5 separate regions of the Homo sapiens genome follow, and all the other regions are linked to region 4. Evidence: promoter capture Hi-C in 16 types of primary human blood cells and fetal thymus (Javierre and others, 2016). All regions are on one chromosome and are shown on one strand. Each heading gives the region's core, a stretch centred on a gene start or on the middle of the fragment in contact. The rest is flanking DNA. Distances are from core to core; before and after follow the strand shown. Region 1 has its middle 14 kb from the start of ARPC2. Region 2 overlaps ARPC2 (actin related protein 2/3 complex subunit 2). Region 3 overlaps USP37 (ubiquitin specific peptidase 37). Region 4 holds the start of XRCC5 (X-ray repair cross complementing 5). Region 5 overlaps CNOT9 (CCR4-NOT transcription complex subunit 9).

Evidence for each region. Contacts are between HindIII fragments. The CHiCAGO score rates a contact against its expected background, and 5 or more counts as called.
Region 1: a contact is called between a fragment that was not itself captured here and the fragment with the promoter of XRCC5 in region 4, in 1 of 17 cell types (neutrophils). The highest score is 6.6, in neutrophils.
Region 2: a contact is called between a fragment that was not itself captured here and the fragment with the promoter of XRCC5 in region 4, in 1 of 17 cell types (neutrophils). The highest score is 6.7, in neutrophils.
Region 3: a contact is called between a fragment that was not itself captured here and the fragment with the promoter of XRCC5 in region 4, in 1 of 17 cell types (neutrophils). The highest score is 5.1, in neutrophils.
Region 5: a fragment that was not itself captured here is called in contact with the fragment with the promoter of XRCC5 in region 4 in 1 of 17 cell types (neutrophils); the score reaches 6.3 in neutrophils.

The regions. Positions count from the first base shown.
Region 1 is chr2:218,201,399-218,205,385 of GRCh38, reverse strand. It overlaps the pseudogene HMGB1P9. Among named protein-coding and RNA genes, the nearest start is that of ARPC2, 14 kb to the left of the region's middle. The HindIII fragment of the contact is 3,439 bases long and covers 1-3,423 here.
Region 2 is chr2:218,221,334-218,225,396 of GRCh38, reverse strand. The region is part of intron 2 of ARPC2 (actin related protein 2/3 complex subunit 2); the gene reads right to left. Among named protein-coding and RNA genes, the nearest start is that of ARPC2, 6.2 kb to the right of the region's middle. RefSeq lists a silencer at 2,528-2,577. The HindIII fragment of the contact is 2,321 bases long and covers 673-2,993 here.
Region 3 is chr2:218,555,017-218,558,736 of GRCh38, reverse strand. USP37 (ubiquitin specific peptidase 37) reads left to right here. Exons shown (of 26, transcript NM_020935.3): 4 at 60-239. The coding sequence starts at 84. Among named protein-coding and RNA genes, the nearest start is that of USP37, 11 kb to the left of the region's middle. The HindIII fragment of the contact is 9,842 bases long and covers 1-3,720 here.
Region 4 is chr2:216,107,693-216,111,684 of GRCh38, reverse strand. XRCC5 (X-ray repair cross complementing 5) reads right to left here and starts at 2,337. Exons shown (of 21, transcript NM_021141.4): 1 at 2,228-2,337. The coding sequence starts at 2,248. RefSeq lists an enhancer at 1,992-2,613. The HindIII fragment of the contact is 16,954 bases long and covers 1-3,992 here.
Region 5 is chr2:218,574,709-218,578,389 of GRCh38, reverse strand. The region is part of intron 1 of CNOT9 (CCR4-NOT transcription complex subunit 9); the gene reads right to left. Among named protein-coding and RNA genes, the nearest start is that of CNOT9, 7.7 kb to the right of the region's middle. RefSeq lists an enhancer at 278-778. The HindIII fragment of the contact is 4,423 bases long and covers 153-3,681 here.

The DNA.
Region 1 (3,987 bases), core at 455-2,954, 2.1 Mb before region 4:
AAGCAAGACAAAGATGTCTGTTGTCATCTGTGCTATTCAACATTATACTGGAAGTCCTAGACAGAGCAATTTGGCAAGAAAAATAAATAAAAGGCCTCTAAATAGCAAAATAAGAAGTAAAACTACCACGATTTGTAGATGACTTGGCTCTCTGTATAGAAAATCCCATAGAATCTCAAAAACCTACTATAGCTGGTAAAGGAATTAAGCAAAGTTGGTGCAAGGCCAACATACAAACATGAGCTCTGTTTCTTTACACTAGCAGTGAACAATCTGAAAAGGAAATTAAGAAAACAATTCAATTTACAGTAGCATCCGAGAGAATAAATTACCTTGGAATAAATTTAACTGAGGAGGTGAAAGACTTGTACACCAAAAACTAAAAACATTGATGGAAGAAACTAAGGAAGACCTAAATGAATGGAAAGACATCCCATGTTCATGGGTTGGGAGTGTTAATATTGTTAAGATGGCAATATTCCCCAAAGCAATCTATAGATTCAATGTAATCCCGATCAAAATTCCAATGGTCTTTTTTTTGGAGAAATTGAAACTTATCCTCAAGTTCCTATAAAACTGCAGGGACAGGCTGGGTACAGTGGCTCATGCCTGTAATTCCAGCACTTTGGTAGACTGAGGTGGGCAGATCATGGGGTCAGGAGATCAAGACCATCCTGGCCAACATGGTGAAGTCCTGTCTTTACTAAAAATACAAAAATTAGTTGGGCATGGTGGTGCATGCCTGTAGTCCCAGCTACTTGGAAGGCTGAGGCAGGAGAATTGCTTGAACCCGGGAGGCGGAGGCTGCAGTGAGCCGAGATCACGCCACTGCGCTCTAGCTTGGGCAACAGAGCGAGACTCTGTCTCAAAAAGAAAAAAAACAAAAAACAAAAAACAATACCCAGAGAACTGCAGGGACCTCTGAATAGCCAAAACAATATTTAAAAAGAAAAAGAAAATTGAAAGACTCACACTTCCTGATTTCCAAACTTACCAGGAAGGTACCTGATTTCCAAACTTCCCAGGAAGGTGTTTTTGAGACAGGGCCTAACTCTGTCACCTAGGCTGGAGTGCAGTGGCACAATCTTGGCTCACTGCAACCCCTGGGCCCTGGACTCAAGTGATTTTCCCATCTCAGCCTCCCAAGTAGCTGGGACTACAGGTGCACACTACCACATTTGGCTAATTAAAAAAATATTTTTTTTTCTGGAGAGTTGAGGTCTCACTATATTGCCCACGCTGAAGTGTGGTACTTGTATAAAGACAGACACATATAGACCAATAAAATAGAATTGAGAGTTTAGCAATAAAACCAAACATCTATGGTCAATTGATTTTTTACAAGGGTGCCATTTAATGGGAGGAAAGAAGAGTCTCTTTAACAGATTGTGGTGGGACAATGGGATAACCACATGCAAAAGAAAAAATGAATTCATACCCTTGCCTCATTCCACATGCAAAAACTAATTCAAACTGGATCAACAACCTAAATGTAAATGATAAAACTATTAGAAGAAAACATGAGGTAAATCTTCATGACCTCAGATTTGGCACTCAAATCTTGAGCAACAGAGAAAGAAAAAGATAACTTGTTCTTTCTTTCTTTCTTTTTTTTTTCTCTTGAGACAGAGTCTCACTCTGTTGCCTAGGCTGGAGTGCAGTGGTGCGATCTCGGCTCACCGAAACCTCTGCCTCCCGAGTTCAAGTGATTCACCTGCCTCAGTCTCCCAAGTAGCTGGGACTATAGGTGTGCGCCACCATGCCATGCTAATTTTTGTATTTTTAGTAGAGACAGGGTTTCACCATGTTGGCCAGGCTGGTTGCGAACTCCTGACCTCAGGTGATCCACCTGTCTCAGCCTCCCAAAGTGCTGGGATTACAGGTGTGAGCCACTGTGCCCAGCCAAATTGTTCTTTCTTAAAATTAAAAACTTGTGATAGACGTGTACCAACTGTTCCTCCAAACCTGAGATGAGTCAGCCAAGAACTGCCATCAAGTACATTAAGCTGAAGGTCTGAACCTATGTAATACAATAGGTTGTGCTATTTACAGAAAATGAGTGACTAAACAAAAAAAATTTTTTTAATTAATAGAGATGGGGTCTCACTATGTTGCCCAGGCTGGTCTTGAACTCCTGGGCTTAAGTGATCCCCCGCCTCAGCCTCCCAAAGTGCTGGGATTACAGGCGTGATCCACTGTGCCCAGCCTGTTGTTTAAATTTTAAGTGGTTTAATGGGTCTCCCAAGGAGTTACCTGCTTTGGAAAATCGCATATATTGAACCTCTCGTTTTGGTATAGAAAGAGATGTGGCTGGGCGCGGTGGCTCACGCCTGTAATCCCAGCACTTTGGGGGGCTGAGGTGGGTGGATCATGAGGTCAGGAGATAGAGACCATCCTGGCTAACACAGTGAAACCCCGTCTCTACTAAAAATACAAAAAATTAGCCGAGTGTGTTGGCACGCGCCTGTAGTCCCAGTTACTCGGGAGGCTGAGGCAGGAGAATCGCTTTAACCCAGGAGGTGGAGGTTGCAGGGAGCCTAGATCAGGCCATTGCACTCCAGCCTGGGTCACAGAGCGAGACTCCATCTCAAAAAAAAAAAAAAAAAGAGAGATGCATCACTTTTGTTAGTAGAAAATTTCTCCTTGTCTCTACTGAAAAAATGTTGAGTTGAAGGAACGGGAAATTATTAACTTGCCTGAGGTGTTCTCATGACTTGATCCAGTTAAGTTAGGAGGAGCAAATGTGACAGTGGAGATTAAGGAGATATTTTTTAAAAATTATTTATTTATTTATTTATTTTCGAGACAGGGTCTTGCCCTGTCACCCAGGCTGGAGTGCAGTGGCGTAATCATAGCTCACTGCAGGCTTGATCTCTCAGGCTTAAGCAATCCTACAGCCTTAGCCTGCCAAGTAGCTGGGACCACAGGTCCACACCACCATGCCTGACTAATTCTTTTGATTTTTAATACAGACAGGGTCTTGGCATGTTTCCCAGGCTGATCTCAAACTCCTGGGCTCAAGCAGTCCTCCTGCCTCAGCCTCCCAAAGTGCTGGGAGGTGTGAGCCACTGTGCCAGGCCGAAAGATACTCTATTTGGATAGGAGATGATGGCAGTTTACTCTGGGTGGAGTAGTGGAGATGGAGAAAAGTGGAGTTTTTGAGAAATTATTTCAGTGAAAAAATCAAAAATTTCTGGTGATGGACAGATGCTCCACTAGTTTTCTATGCTGAGTAACAAATTACCACAAACTTAGCAGCCCCAAATAACACCCATTTATTATCTTACAGTTTACATGGGTCAAGAGTCTAGGCACAACTTAACTGGGTCCCCTGCTCAGGGACTCACCAGACTTCAGACCAAGTATTGACATGGGCTGTAATTTCATCAGAGTCTCAACCAGGGAAAGGTCAATTTGCAAGCTTCCTCAGGTTATTGGCAAATTCATCTCCTTGCAGTTGTAGCACTGAGGTCCCCATTTTCTTTCTGGCTCTCAGAGGCCACCCACAGTTCCTTGATAAACATGATAGCTTTTTTTTTTCTAATAGAAGAATTGTACTTACTTAGAAGCATTCAGAATGTCAACAAAACAGCTGCAACTTTTTATTTTTTTGTAATTACAAAGCGGTATTCAGTTAACAGAACAATTATTTCATATAAGCTGCATCAGAGACAACTGAAGATAAAAAAACTACCATCCCTGTATATAACTAATTTGTGCTGTGCACCAACAAGAACCTGCTTTAAATTTCCATGCCAATTTACAACCCCCATACTGTACCAGGCAAGGTTAGTGGCTACTGAAAATACCACCAGAATAGGGCTATCTAAAGACACATTCGGTAGTGTGTTAGCTATACAAAAAAAAGACACTGTGCAGTTTAAAATAAAATCTTACACAGCCTTACATTTCATTTTTTTTCTTTAAAAGGAGTGAGTTGTGTGCAGGGGGGTTAAATGCTTTATAGACAAGAAAAAAAAACTGTGC
Region 2 (4,063 bases), core at 584-3,083, 2.1 Mb before region 4:
TTTACATCACCAAAGTACTTACCACTCACCTTCAAGAAACCCTCTTTAGTTCTACCCTAGTTTTGTCTTGCTTTGTAAATTCCAGCTCGGAACTTAAAATAGACAGTGTAACACAAAATAACACTATGAAATCACTAAGAATAGTCAGGACATCTGCTTTACAACTTTAGCTTTCTCATCACGCTCATGTTTTGGGACAAATACCCTTACACCTTTGCATTCTCCCCTATCATCAATAAAATGGGGGAATAAAAATGAACCTATTTACCTCATGGAACTACTACATATAACACAAGAACAGACCTGAAGTCCAAAGTAGGAAGCAAATGAAGACTATTGCCTTACCAGCTAGCTACCTGTAAACTCAATGATTCCACTTTGTTTTAGGGGCTAGCAAACAAGATGCGCATGTTTTCACATTTATTTTTGTCTAACTTGCTCAAGACCTCTTAATCAAGTACGTATCTTTCCACGATCTCTGCTCCATTACCTGCGAAAGAAACGAAGACTAAGTTGCTCTCCAGGGATGCTGGGAAATAATGGAATATATAACATGGTTTATGAGTGTTAAAAAGCTGATATAGAAGCCAGACAATACCTTTCAAAAAAACTGGCTTCTATGAAGCATGCTAGCCCTGCTGAAAAATCAACCTATACGAATCATACAAAGCTTCACCTTGCTTCTTCAAAGCCCTATATGTGACTTAGGAAAAGCGCACTGGGTATCTCTACGAATTGAAGTATCAAGTGGGTTTACGGAGAAGCAGAGAGTTCAGAATAGAAGGAAAAAACTAGATGAAAATTTAAATTGCTTCTGAGCCTTCATTTTGAAACTGTAGCCAGGAAACAAAGGCAACGAGTCCAATACCATTCCTCACCTCTAGAAAACAAGAGCAAAGAACAAAAATATGGAAATGTTAATCATGGACCAACTGAATGAAATATTAAGAGGATGACCAATGGGAGGAAGCATGGAAGCATACTTTCCTGGGGAAGGCTGACTGTGCTGAAGAGTCAGGGAGTTTATAAAAGCCCATTATTACATCACTTAGTAAGTTTTTTTTTAACCTTTAGGTTTTAATTCAGCCAAAGAAGGGCTGAGTTCCTCACTCTCCTACTTTGTCAAAAGACCTGAGAAAAACCAACTATAAATAAATAACCTTTGGGCTCCAAGTCATACACACTTTGAGTCTCTAATTTCAAATTTCTCTAGGCATAAAGTATCCTGAGCACAGATCCTTGTGGGAAAAGTTGCTACGATCGATCTTAAGTGGTCTGCTGTCTGACTTAGCAATATTTGTCAAATCACATTCATTAATATTTTAGTTTACTATTTATGGCTAGAAGAGAGAGAATGGCTGCTGAGGAGAGTATTAGGCCAAAGGAGACTTCATGGGAAGTCTTCTGGGAGTTAGAGGTCCGAGAACTCAGTGCCTTAACGATGAGTTTGCTGAGCGTGAAGTATACCATCACAAGATTGCTTCTCAATTCCAAGACCTGGCGTTTGTTATTTTACTTCTGTGGTTTAAAATTACAAAGGAGCGGGAGGAAGACTGGCCCAGGAAAAGTGTTCCACTAAATAGGCCCCCAGAATTAATAGTTACATTATTTACTGTTCTACCAGCTGCTAAAATTTCAGATGCTGGGGGTGAGAAAAAGCAAGTTATTTAGAATTCAGAATTTATTGGCTATGTGACCACAGGCAATGCTCCTCAAATGTCACCGGGCCTCAGGTTCCTCTTCTACAAAATGGGGACAAAACATCTACCTCCCAGGTTGGTGTGAAGACTGAGATGATATATGTCCAGCAGTACAGCAGTCTCCCCTTATCTGTGGGGGATATGTTCCAAGACACCCAGTGGATAAATAAAAGTGTGGATAGCACTGAACTGTAGCAAAGAAACACCAAGGTCACTTTTTTTACTTAAAGGAATCACTTCATGGGTTCTCTTTGGCATATCCAAATTGCCAGCATCATTACTCCTGTACTTTGGAGCCATTATTAAGTAAAATAAGGGTAACTTGAACACAAGCACTACAATGCTGTGACAGTCAATCTGATAACCTAGACAGCTATTAAGCGACTAACAGAGGGTAGCGTACACACTGTAGATATGCTAGACAAAAAGATGATTCATGTCCTGGGCGGGACAGCGCAAGATTTCATTATGCTACTCAGAATGGTGCACAATTTAAAATTAATGGATTGTTTATTTCTGGGATTTTCCATTTAATATTTTCAGACCATGGTTCACTGCTCACTGCAGGTAACTGAAACTGCAGAAAGCAAAACCACAGATAAGGGGGGACTACTGTACAGCAAAGTTTCTCAAACGGTGTCTTTTAAGTTATAGATATGCTGAGGTAATGATCCCCATATCCCTTAGGGCAGGCAGCAGGTGGCAGGATCTCTGAGAGGCTAGACCATTTACCCAAATGTGCCATACAAATACAATCATGTTCTGTGTGCCATACGATAAACAAGGTCAAGAATCACAGTGAAGGATGCCTGCACGGTGCTTACTTAATATGTAGTAGTTACTTATTCAATATCTACCCCCACCCCCAATCCTCAAGAGCCCTGGTTTTCTCAGTTGTAAATGAGATCCACTATCTGTCACAGAAATGAAATGAAACCATGTTAAGGCATATAGCACAGTGCCTAGCTCATAGAAGGTAATCAATAAATTAGTTCTTCTCCTAGGTGGAGTCAGAGATCGGACTCTGAAGCTGTGGTTGGGAGAGGTTTTAGGATTGCGGTAATTCCCTGAATCAGGAATTGGTTAGCAGTACAAGGAAAAACAGAACTCCTATAAGTGTCAGACTGCTGTAATGTCTGGAATCCTAGAACAAGCCGGCTGGGTAAGTCCTCAGAGTTACTGCCTGGACAACCCAAGACACTAAAACATAATCAATTCATTCAGACAGGTTTTAAGAGCTATTCTTAAAACCCTTTAGAAAAAATTTTCTTCTATCTTTTCTCTAAGGAAGCTTCTAGAATGTCAATAATCAATCCAGAAAGGGCTTCTGGCAACTGTATTATCTCATCTTCTTTTCTCATTAACAACTTTGGGGTTTTTACTCCTGAATGCACCCTAGGATCCAATTCCCCATTTTTTTCTTTTTTCTTGAGATGGGGTCTCGCTCTGTCACCCAGGCTGGAGTGCAGTGGTGCCACCTCTGCTCACTGCAACCTCCGCCTCCTGGGTTCAAGTGATTCTCCAGCCTCAGCTTCCTGAGTAGCTGGGATTACAGGTGTGCGCCACCACACCTGGCTAATTTTTGTATTTTTAGTAGACATATGTTTTGTCATGTTGGCCAGGCTGGTCTCAAACTCCTGACCTCAAGTGATCCGCCCTCCTTGGCCTCCCAAAGTGCTGGGATTACAGGCGTGAGCCAGGGTGCCTGGCCCCAATTCCCCATTTGGGCATTTATGTCTCTCTCCTACTTATCCCTTCTTATGTCCTGAATTAGAGGAATTACTGAATTCTGCTCACTATAAAGGTTTCTGAGCATTCTCCTTTAAATCTTCTATAAAGCTCCCATCATTCTTTTTGAGCAAAGCCTAAAAAAATAGATCATATTAGGTAAGAGGTGGTCCTATTCTCCACTAAGCCATATATCAAAATATGGAGAACAGAGACCTAAAAGCTGATTTACTCAATGTCACAAAAATGTCAGCTCCTAAAGAAACAAGGAATCATTCTATCTGGCTTCATTAATTTCTTCAATAAACCAATTTACTGAGTTGACTATATACACAATGAGGATGCTGGGGAAACAAAGATGATTAAAGTGATAGACCCAGCTCTTAAGGAGTTATCAGTTTGGTCCAGCACAGCTCTGGGGCTTCAGGACCAAAGTGGTCCCAAGTAGGCCACAGGACAGGTGGCAGTGTGTAATTAACTACAGTGACCTGTAAAAAGACCAACCAGGTCTTCTTACTGAGTTGGACACAACATTCCATTTCTTCTAAATGCTTAAACAATGTCCTAATTCCAAATCACTCCAAACAGCCTGTCTCTCTGAGGACATATGCAATATATTTGGGAATGAGAACAGA
Region 3 (3,720 bases), core at 370-2,869, 2.4 Mb before region 4:
TCTTATTTTTCTTCCTTAGAACCTGCCAGGTAAAGGTATATTTTTGCTTTTTAATTTAGCCAGAAGCAATTTTTAAAGAAAATATGTCTCCTCTGAAGATACATGGTCCTATCAGAATTCGAAGTATGCAGACTGGGATTACAAAGTGGAAAGAAGGATCCTTTGAAATTGTAGAAAAAGAGAATAAAGTCAGCCTAGTAGTTCACTACAATACTGGAGGAATTCCAAGGATATTTCAGGTAATACCAAATATTGATTTGGAATAGCTCTTGAAGCAGATCATTTAGTAAATAGCTATTCTGTGCCATAGTAAACATCACAGTAGCCCTCCTCCTAGATTAATATTTCTTGCTTCTTATTTCTAGGACATTAATATTTTTATGTACATGTTTTATAAATTATTCATCAGTATTGTTGTTGGTATATAATAAAAGCAGGAAGTAGTCACCATTATTGAAAAGAAAACTTGTGGGAGGAAGCTGACAAGAGTTCGGATACTGTATATCTAAGCTATTTTTAAAACCACTTTAAGATAATTTTAGTTCTTCCTTTTTTTCCCCTTAACATACATGACGATGGATTCATCACTATTTAGTGTTAGTTTTTAACAGAATTTATTAGTGTCTTCTAAAAGCCAGTGTCTACTTCCTGAATAATCCTGCCAAATGTCATGGTGTGAATCATTCAAGGATGATTATTCAAGGTTATCTTTATAGCTATTTTCTTCTAACTGTGAAGTTTTGAAGAATCTTCATTTTCACTGCAAAAATTAATTTTCTTTTCACCTTTTTTTTTTTTTTTTTTTTGAGACAGAGTCTTCCTCTGTCACCCAGGCTGGAATACAATGACATGATTTCGGCTCATTGCAACCTCTGCCTCCCGGGTTCAAGCGATTCTCCTGCCTCAGCCTCCTGAGTAGCTGGGATTACAGGTGTGCGCCACCACTCCTGGCTAATTTTTTTTTGTATTTTTAGTAGAGACAGGGTTTCACCATGTTGGTCAGGCTGGTCTTGAACTCCTGACCTCGTGATCTGCTCGCCTCGGCCTCCCAAAGTGCTGGGATTACAGCCGTGAGCCACCGCGCCCAGCCAAGATATTATATTTTTAAATTAGATTATGCAAAAGTGTAATATCCGTTCTAAAATATTCTATTGAAAAACAATATTTAACTTTATGCTTCAGAACCTGATCTTAGGTAAAATTTGTATTTGTCTCTGCTTTTGAATTGTAAAAATAGATTGCCTATGATTTCGTGTATCAAAGGTAGTCTTAAATAAGATAGAGGTGGTGATGGAAAAATAGTAGTTTGTCACATGCATATATCTGCTAATTGTTCGCCTCATCAAAAGAAAGGGTTTTTTGCAAATACAGGCTCATTTTTTTTTCAATCCTCAGCCCAATTTGGCAGTGAGTAAATATTCAAATGTTTAACCAAATACAGATCTTTAGGAGCATGACGGTTTTACCTGTGACTTCAGCCTTTATCTCAGTTCCAGATCAGTTTACATTCAGCATTCGTTTGTTAAAACCATGTACAGGTTACTGCTATGGATATTGTGCTAAGGGATGGCTGGGCGCAGTGGCTCATGCCTGTAATCCCAGCACTTTGGGAGGCTGAGGCAGGAGGATTGCTTGAGTCCAGGAGTCCAAGACCAGCCTGGGCAACATGGCGAGACCCTGTCTCTACAAAAAAAAATTCAGAAACAAATAGCCAAGCATGTTGGTATGTACCTGTAGTCCCAGCTACTTATAAGGTTGAGGTGGGAAGATGGCTTGAGCCTGTGATCATGCCACCGCACTCCAGCCTGCGTGACAAAGCAGGATCCTGTCTGAAAAAGAAACAGGGTGGTTGGGGGACAGGGGCTGGTAAGTATACACAGCTGAATGAGACATCATTTCCTTCAAACTTAAGAGTAACCAAATAGGCCAGGCGTGATGGCTCACGTCTGTAATCCCAGCACTTTGGGAGGCTGAGGTGGGCAGATCACCTGAGGTCAGGAGTTCGAGACCAGCCTGGCCAACATGGTGAAAACCTGTCTCTACTAAAAATACAAAAATTAGCAGGCACGGTAGTGGGCACCTGTATTCCCAGCTACTCGGGAGGCTGAAGCAGGAGAATAGCTTGAATCCGGGAGGCAGAGGTTGCAGTGAGCTGAAATCTCACCATTGCACTCCAGCCTGGGCAACAAGAGCGAAACTCCATCTCAAAAAAAAAAAAAAAAAAAAAAAAAAACAGAAAAACCCAGAGTAACCAAATACATTTTTAGCTGTAAAAACATTACAAAGATCCTGAGGTAACACAAGAAAGCAAGCCATTTGCACTCTGAAGATTCAAAGAATAAATAGAAGTTTGCCAAACATAGTAAAGGTGGAAGTGATGTCTTTTTTTTTTCTTTAACCCTGAATTTTCTGGCCAAACTGGAAGTGATTTCTGTATATTTTCTGGCCAAACTGGAAGTGATTTCTGTATGTAGACAAATACATGAAATGTGAATCAGCACTCAGGGAACTAGAAAGTTATTTTTAAAATATATGGACACTGAGGAGTGAGTAACAGAAATAAGGCTGAAGAGCTAGGTAGGAACCAGATATTGATGTTTCTTGTTTGTCATAAGGAAAGCAGAAGTTCTAAGGAGCCAAGAATCTCAAACTCACATTTCTTTGGGGCTAGGCAGATGACTTTATTTCAGGTGATAGTGGGAGAATAGAAGGACATATAGGAGGTTATTATGGGAGTTTAGATGAGGAATGAAAGTAAGGAAAAGGGAGTGGAGTAAGCAAGAAGAGGAAAGGATAGATCTGAAGAGATTTCAAGAAGATTTAAAGATTTGGGAGGTGTGAGAGAAAATTATCTGGGGAGAGTCTCAAGTTTTTGAGTGGATGGCAGTCACTTTTATGTCTTCCATGATACGGAGCAGAGGGGAAGAATTGGGGTGTGAGGATTAGGAGAGATGAGTTATCTGAGGTGTCAAGCATTCAGAAGGTAAACAGGACTGGAGCTCCAACAGAGAGGTCTGGGCTTAAGATAGAGGAAGAGTTGTGTGTCGTTACCATATGAATAGTTACTGAAATTGTGGGGCTGGATGGGCTTTTCAGTTGTTGAAGTGTCGAAGTTCAAGAAGATTCTCATCTTTTTTGTTAATGAACAAACTTTGCTTTGTATATTTAATTTTTAAAAAGTGATAAATTGACTGAAATAATGCGTTTAATGTTATCTATTTTCCTTTTGCATACTAAACTGCTTATTTAAGTATTTTGGAGTTAAAAGCATCTAAAACGAATTATTGTGTTTTCCTAGAGAATTTCCACTCAAGGACATAATTTTACGACCCACTTTGATGCTAAAAATACATATATAATTTAAAATTTGAATATAAATTGGCAAAATTGTTTTTCATTCTTATCTAATAATTAACAAAAGTCAATTTTCTCTAGTTTAAAAAAAATTCTGAAGTATGTTACTAGTTCTTTGTTTATGCTTTTCAGAGGGCATGTCTTCAGTAAAAGGCAGTTTAGAAACTTTTATATATGCCTGCTGAGAACATTAGAGAATAAGGCTGCCTGACTGGCAGGAATTATTTAGATAATGAAGAAACTGTAAGATTTACTAATTTAGCCTTGGAAAAATTCCATTTAAGAGAAAATAAAAGTTATCGCTTCATAGCACATTTCCAAAGTCTGGTAGAGTCTAAGATGAATTATTGAACCAGTTCTGTGGAG
Region 4 (3,992 bases), core at 1,088-3,587:
GGAAAATTAATTACAAATGAACATGAAATGAGCAGCTTAGGGAAGAATCTGAAGAATACATGATGTAAAGAACAGTTGGAAATAACTAGATATTTAAGTCAGATGAGAAGATTAAAGGGAACATAACAGTTTTCCTCCCCACCATTTTTTTTTCCTTTTTTTTGAGACATGGTCTCACTGTCACCCAGGCTGGAGTACAGTGGCATGATCATGGCTCACTACTGCCTCCATCTCCCGGGCTCAAGTGATCCCGCTACCTCAGCCTTCCAAATAGCTGGGACCACAGTTGCACCCCACCATGCCCAGCTAATTCTTAAATTTTTTTTGTAGAGTTGGGGTCTCACTGTGTTGCCCAGGCTGGTCTCAAACTCCTTGGCTTAAGCAATCCTCCCACCTCCGCCTCCCAAAGTGCTAGGATTACAGGTATAGGCCACCGTGTCTGGCCTCCCCCCAGATATTTGACAACTGTTGTATAAAAGGATTGGTCTGCCAAGAAAGACAACGGGATCAACAGATGGAAGTTACAGGGAGACTGATGCGACTCCATACGAGGGATAAAAAATAACATTTAGAAGTGATCAATAAAGAAACTACTCTTTTTTAAGTGATCTCTTGACCCTAGAAATGTTTTAAAAACCTGAATGAATTCCTATCAGGGAAGTTATAGATGATTTCTAAATGTGGTTATATCTCAGGCAACACATGAAAAGAAAAGATTATTTTTCACTAGTTTACAAACAACACAATGCACTAAGAGATTTCTGAAGTAAAATTAGATTATTTGAAAAAAAAAACGTGCTAATAAACCACAAAATTCCTTTGAGAACAGTAAAATGCACATCCCAGTTTCAATGCCTGGGGCATGATAACCTAAAAAAACTTAAGAGTCACAAAATATGCTGCTGCACTTATTTGATACACACCCACAAAAGCTACTTTTAAACCAGAAAACTCTAGAGGACTAAAGCACTTTTGTCATGAATTAGGTATCCAGTAAGTGCCATCAAAGGGTTTCAAATATGGAACTTATTGTCTGGAAGCAGAATGGTCTATATTTCTGAGTTCCTATCTGGCAGCAGTAAGAAAACTGAGAAAGAGAAACCGGGTAGCATAGCAACTCTTCATTTCTATACCGAAGCAATACAGGCTGTTAGAATTTTACTTCCAGTTCATCTGCAACAAACAGCTCCTCCACTAGAGCTACAAAGTTTTCAGCAGCTGAAAGAGGACGAAAAAAGGAGGTGAGTGGCATTATTAAAAGTTCATGATCGTTTTAATCAACATTTCTCAATGAGGAGTTGAGGGAACTAGGGATCAGTTGCTCAAACTCGTATCTTGTTTATCTGTATTGAATAAATTCATTAATCCCTGGAACCACATCTCCCTCTAGTGACCCTTCAGAGACAACTACCACTCTTTTATGTTGAAAAAAAAAAATCACTTTAAAATTCATTGTAATTTCTGTTACTGATCTGGGACACCAATGGTCATAGATTTCTAGCAACACAGGGGTTCTCCAGGGCCCTGAAACCAGACAGCTTGGATTCAAATCCGGATTTCACCAGGAAAAGCCCACAGTTCTTTATTCCTCGGTTTTCCCACTTGCAAAATGGGGATAAATAGTTTTCACTTCAAGGGGTTGTGAAGATTAAATGAGATAAGAATAAAAGGTTTAGATCCGTCCCTCACAGAGTGGGCTTTCAATAAATGCGGGATACTACGTTATTATAAAGCTAATAATACGACGCTTTACAGTTTAAGTTATTTTAGTCACAGATAGTCCCTCTCTTAAGTTTTACAACAAGCCCTGTGGGATAGTTGCTTTATCACAGCTAATTTTCATTCTCATAGAGATCTTAAGAACCCAGGCTCGGAAGTAATAGAGGAAGTGGGGCTAGGGAGTGGAATGGGATAAAGAGAGAGAGAGGGGAGGCGGGTGGGGAGGCAGGTGAGACAAAGAGCAGGTAGAGAGGGAGAAGAGGGATGGGATGGGTGGGTAATGGAAGAGGTGGAGTCAGCGAGGCTCAAATTCAGGTCTTGGAGCCCCAAATCTCCAGCTTTTCTCATAGCGCATCCCTCGGTCCCGGCCCTCCTGACTGAGCCCACCACCATGATCTTCTCTTGCCCCATTCTTTGTCTTGACCGCGATCCCACGATTCCTGCTTCCGAACCACCCTCTCCGGATCCCCAGTCCGGGTAAAGCCCAAGTCCATGGCTTTCTTTATACCTTATTCCCCGACCGCACCATGTTGCCGGTCCTCAGGCGCTTTGGTCGCTTCTTCCGGGCGGGAACCTGCCGTGTCGCAACTCGCTTCCGGTGGACAAGCGGCAGATAGCGGAAAGAGCCGCTTCGTTTCCTGCTAGGCCTGAAAGGGGCGGGGAAACCGTGCCCCGGAACTCTGAGCATGCGCAGATTCCCGCCGAGCTTGCGCAGATTCCCGCCGAGCTCGCGCAGATTCCGGCCGAGCATGCGCAGATTCTCTCCGAGCATGCGCAGATTCCCGCCGAGCATGCGCAGATTCCCGCCGAGCATGCGCACATTCTCTCCATTCCGCCGTAGTCGGGAGCGTGTGGTGTTTGAGCCGCCTGAAACGCTAGTACGACAGATTTACTTAAAGATTCACTTAATCACTTAAAGATTCACGTCCCTTTTCTCTCATTGAGAATAACACCTAAGGCATTTTGTGTCAGAGCTCTGGAGTTAGATTTCTTTTCTTTTTTTTACTTTTTTAAAAAATCTTTTTTCCTTTAATTTCATTTTTTCATTTATTTTTTATAACTTTTGATTTTTTTTTTTCTCATCACTTGTGGGTTTTTTTCTACTTTTTATTTTTGGTTATTGTGGAGTTAGATTTTCTTGAGTATGAGTATGAATGCAGAAAGTCACTTAACTTCTCTAAAAGACTCAGTTTCTTCTAAAAAGTGATAATGAAACACTTCACCGATGTGATAACCTTAGAGCCAACTGGGGAAGAAGAGTAGGACGTCCCCAGGAGCACAAAAGTAGAAGGGAGATTCTACTCTGCAGAGAAAATGGGATGCACAAACGCCTGGAGGCATGAGACTTTATCTGCTAAGGCTCTCCCAGTAGTTAGCAGTGGCTCCAGCTTGGAAGGGAGGAGTCAAGGTTTAATTTAGAAGACAAGTCTAGGGAGATATAGAAATAGCAGCTGTCATCACAGTGCTTTACTTGATCACGAGCCCTTTGTCCAGCCCGCATCCCCTACCCCTTTGAGGGAGGCAGGCCCAAGCAGTACCTTGCATAGAAATGACTGCTTTCTATACCATATGACCCCCAGCTGACAGGTGGCTGGACGAAGGGTCTGGCAACCTGCAAAGTGTCTGCAAACCTCTGCCCAAACTGAGAAAATCAAGTCCAATCAATATTCTCTCCTGCTTGAAAATTGTTTCTGGGAAAAGCAAGAATTGAAGCTGAAAAGATGTGGAGAATCTATGAGCCAAAATTATAAATACATTGAAGCCTCTAGAATGTAGAGTCAGACATATTCAGAGGTGCTCATAGAGCCCAGGAGGTTCTTCCAGCTTTTGATTCAAACTCAAGGAGTTACTTAAAAGCTGAAATATTATTTTTAATAATACTTTAAAGGAACAGCAGCGCCCTGGCCGCTCAGCTTTGCGCGGGCTGCAGCAGGCAGGCAGGCAGGCACGGACACTCGCCCTTCCCTGCGGGTAAGATTTCCAAGAGAAAGATCAGCTCGGCAGAAGGGGCGGGGAAGATCTGTGAGGTTGTCAGCTAAATCTCCTCCAGCAAAGGTGGAAACGAAGCCCAGCGGAGGCAGCAGGACAGCATAAATTTTCAGACAAAGAAGCAAACAAGGAAAAATGGGAGCAAAGGGCAAACAGGCCAAGTGGCTATCCGGGAAACAAAAGATTTATCTGTGGAAAGCGGAGAAACTGAAACAAGGAGAGTCCAGCCTCTGGTGAAGCAGGACAGAAAGAAGCCAAATCTGATTAGTATCACATACCATATC
Region 5 (3,681 bases), core at 1,115-3,614, 2.5 Mb before region 4:
TCAAATTTACTCTACCCAATCTGAATAATGGCCTTTTAAAAATGGAAGCTTCATTGTAAGTTTTTAGCTTTATTTTTACTATTTCACTAGCCTGACAGAAAGAACCACAAGTTGTTCTGCTAAATAGACTGAAATACAATGCAGCTTAAGCTTTAAGTGCCTTACAGTAATCTGCTAAAAGCTGTTTTGTAACTCCCTTCAGGGATGGTCCTCAAGGAATCAATCATAGGCTCTTAAAGCAACAATATGATAGAAGGAATATGGTAGCTTTTTTCCTCCTTTCCCAACAGCAAAAGCAGTGTTGTTCAGGCACTTGCCCTTTCTAGGCAGCCACAAACAGGCCCTCAACTTAAAAACTATTTTTGGAAATGTAATTCCTACCTGAAGATAGGGTATGTGTTTATTTAGAATATTACATCACCTTAGACGCTCAGCAGAAACACAGGATAAAATTTTAGTGTTAGGTTTCCTGCCCAGTCTCTTGGATGACCCCACAATCCAGTAACCAAAGGGGGCCTCACAGATACTGGTCTGGCAATATAGTACCTTTCCTGATTAATCAGTACCCATTCCAGCTGACCTTCCCCAAAGTCTTGTCATACAGATACCACCATCAGTAAACTCCATCATCCCTACTGGAGCCAGTGTGTGACTTGCAGTTGGCACCTTGTACCCCATCTTGCCCTGGTAACCACTGGTTTGCATACCATGCCTCCTGAACACCAGGCCCCATCCCTACATATTCTCTTTCTGGAGCTGGCCTGATGCCCACAGAGAAGATGGCCCTGCTGGCAGTGGTGTAGGCACTCTGAAAGGCCAATGCCTGGTGCGTACACGGGTTCCTAAAGCCATGGACACCTGCTGCTAGCAATACTCCAATTTGTGAGATTATTTGTGGGGGCTGCAGCCTCCATGTGATTTTGATTCTAAGAGAGCTAGAACCATGTCAGGTGGGTGGTAATGTGGCCCCCATGGGCACTAGCTTGGTGTTATGGGTTCTGCTGTCATTCTAGCCAAAAGGAGGGCAGTTTGGTGCCAGGAAATATCTAGGGTGGGGATCCTCCTTTTCATCATCCCTGTTGCATTTCACCCCCAATTTAATAACAGCAGTAAGTTACACCAACTGAATACCCACCTGTCATGGGATGAATACAATTTTTTAAAAATAAAAATGAGAGCTTAAAACATACAGTGCTTACTCTGCCAGGCACTGTCCTAAATACTTATATTTACCAGCACTCTCATTTTATAGATAAGGAAAATCTGAGGCACAGAGAAGTTATGTAAAATTTAAATGGCAAGCTAGGATTTGTACCCAGGTGTTCTAGCAACAGAGCCCACACTTTTAACCGCTTTGCTAATGCTGCTTCTCATCTGCCTGAAAGACAAAATCTGATCTAAAGATGACTTTTTTTTTTTTTTTGAGATGGAGCCTCACTCTGTCTCCCAGGCTGGAGTGCAGTGGTGTGATCTCAGCTTACTGCAACCTCCGCCTCCCAGGTTCAAGCGGTTCTTCTGCCTCAGCCTCCCCGGTAGCTGGGACTACAGGCATATGCCACATGCCCAGCTAATTTTTGTATTTTTAGCAGAGATGGGACCTTCCCACGTTGGCCAGGCTGATCTCAAACTCCTGACCTGAAGTGATCTGCCTGCCTTAGCTTCCCAAAGTGCTGGAATTGCAGGTATAAGCGACTGTGCTCAGCCTAAAAATGACTTCCTAATAAATTATATTCTTTGACCTAGACAATATAGTTAATACATAAAAATCTCAGACAAAAAGTAAAATGTTATTGGTGGTAGTTCAACAAAATCTGAAAGAACACTCAGTACTATGAACAGTAGCATTGATGTTAGGAGAAATTCTCTACTTATTGAGATTACAAAGCACTTAATAGGTATTGTTTTCAGAGAGAAGTCAGTACAATAGTTTCACATAGTTCCCTGTGTCACATTATGGATCAGATGGGGCATAATTTACTTAGTGAGAACCACCAACACACACATGGACATATAACAAGCAATTTTGTAACACACATATAGGAATTTCATTGTTTTGGAGAATAAAAAGGAAATATTCTTATATTTTGAGTTATATATTAATTTATATAACCAGATGATTGATAAAATATTTTGGACATTCCTAAATAAAACACCAAAACTCAAAATGTATCTTACTCTCCTTCCATATCCCAAGAGTTATTTAGGCCCATCTTTCACAAAAAGAATCTGTAATTGACATCTTTTTAAAAGGAGGCGGGCAGTAGAAGAAGGGGTACGGCAGGTGAGGGAAGAGTTAGTTCTGTTGTACCACCTTTTTTTAAAAACATGGTTTCATTTAATGATCACAACATGGTGGTTATTAACCTCATTTAACAATCGATGAAACCATGGGCAGACAACAGGCAGATTTACTCCTCATGCCACTCTGTAACGATCACCTCTAATGATTCCTAGTTCAGATGCTACAACTCTTTGAATTTTTAATTTACTAATACATTTCTAAGGCTGTGGCTGATATGGAACTCAATCTAGTAGCACACATTGCTCACTGACAGGCAAGCAAATTAATCTATGACTTCTCTACTGGAAATTACCTTATTTGAAGCATTAATAATAATTGCAGGATACCAACCAAGAGAGCAGAGGTTGACATTTTTTGAGGCCCAGACCCTTTAAGAATCAAATGAAGTCCGGCACGGTGGCTCACGCCTGTAATCCCAGCACTTTGGGAGGCCGAGGTGGGAGGATCACAAGGTCAGGAGTGTGAGACCATCCTGGCTAACATGGTGAAATCCCATCTCTACTAAAACTACAAAAAAATTAGCCAGGTGTGGTGGCAGGCACCTGTAGTCCCAGCTACTTGGGAGGCTGAGGCAGAATGGCGTGAACCCGGGAAGCGGAGCTTGCAGTGAGCGGAGATTGCACCACTGTACTCCAGCCTGAGCCACTGTACTCCAGCCTGAGCTACAGAGCAAGACTCATCTCAAAAAAAAAAAAAAAAAGAAAAAAGAAAAGAAAAAAGAAAATTGTGGATCTTTTACTCAGAAAAATACACAACTGCAAAAACACGAAAACCTACACATAATTTTAAGGAGTTCACAGAGTTCCTGCAATGTATCCATGTACCCAGGATTAAGAATCTGTTTATCAAATTGAAGAACAGGAAAGACCTCAATTTGCAAGGAACTACATGTGTATATAATTGGAACACACACTGGCGTGGGAGCCTGAAGTGACTTCAAAATCCAGTTTTGCTCTTTCTAGAATTGTGTGACCTAGGATAAGTCATTTAACTTTCCAAACCTCAATTTTCTCATTGTTAAAGTGAAGGAACTATATTAAATAATTGTCAGTCTCAGGCAACTCTAAAATCTTAGAAATTATTTAGTTCTTAGTTGTGAGAGTCTAATCTAAGAGGCTCTTTTTTTAAAAAAAAAACTTTGACGTATAATTTGCATACAATAAAAGTGAACTCATTTTAAGTGTACGCTTCAATAGATTTTTGAGAAATTTATACACCTAAGTAACTGCTACCATAATGAAGATATAGATCCATTCACCCCAAAAAGTTCTTTAATGCCCTTTTCAGTAAACCCCATACTCAGCCTGAGGCAATCATGGGTGTTTTCTGCTACTATAGATTAGGTCTGCCTTTTCCAGAAATTATTAATATGCAGTAAT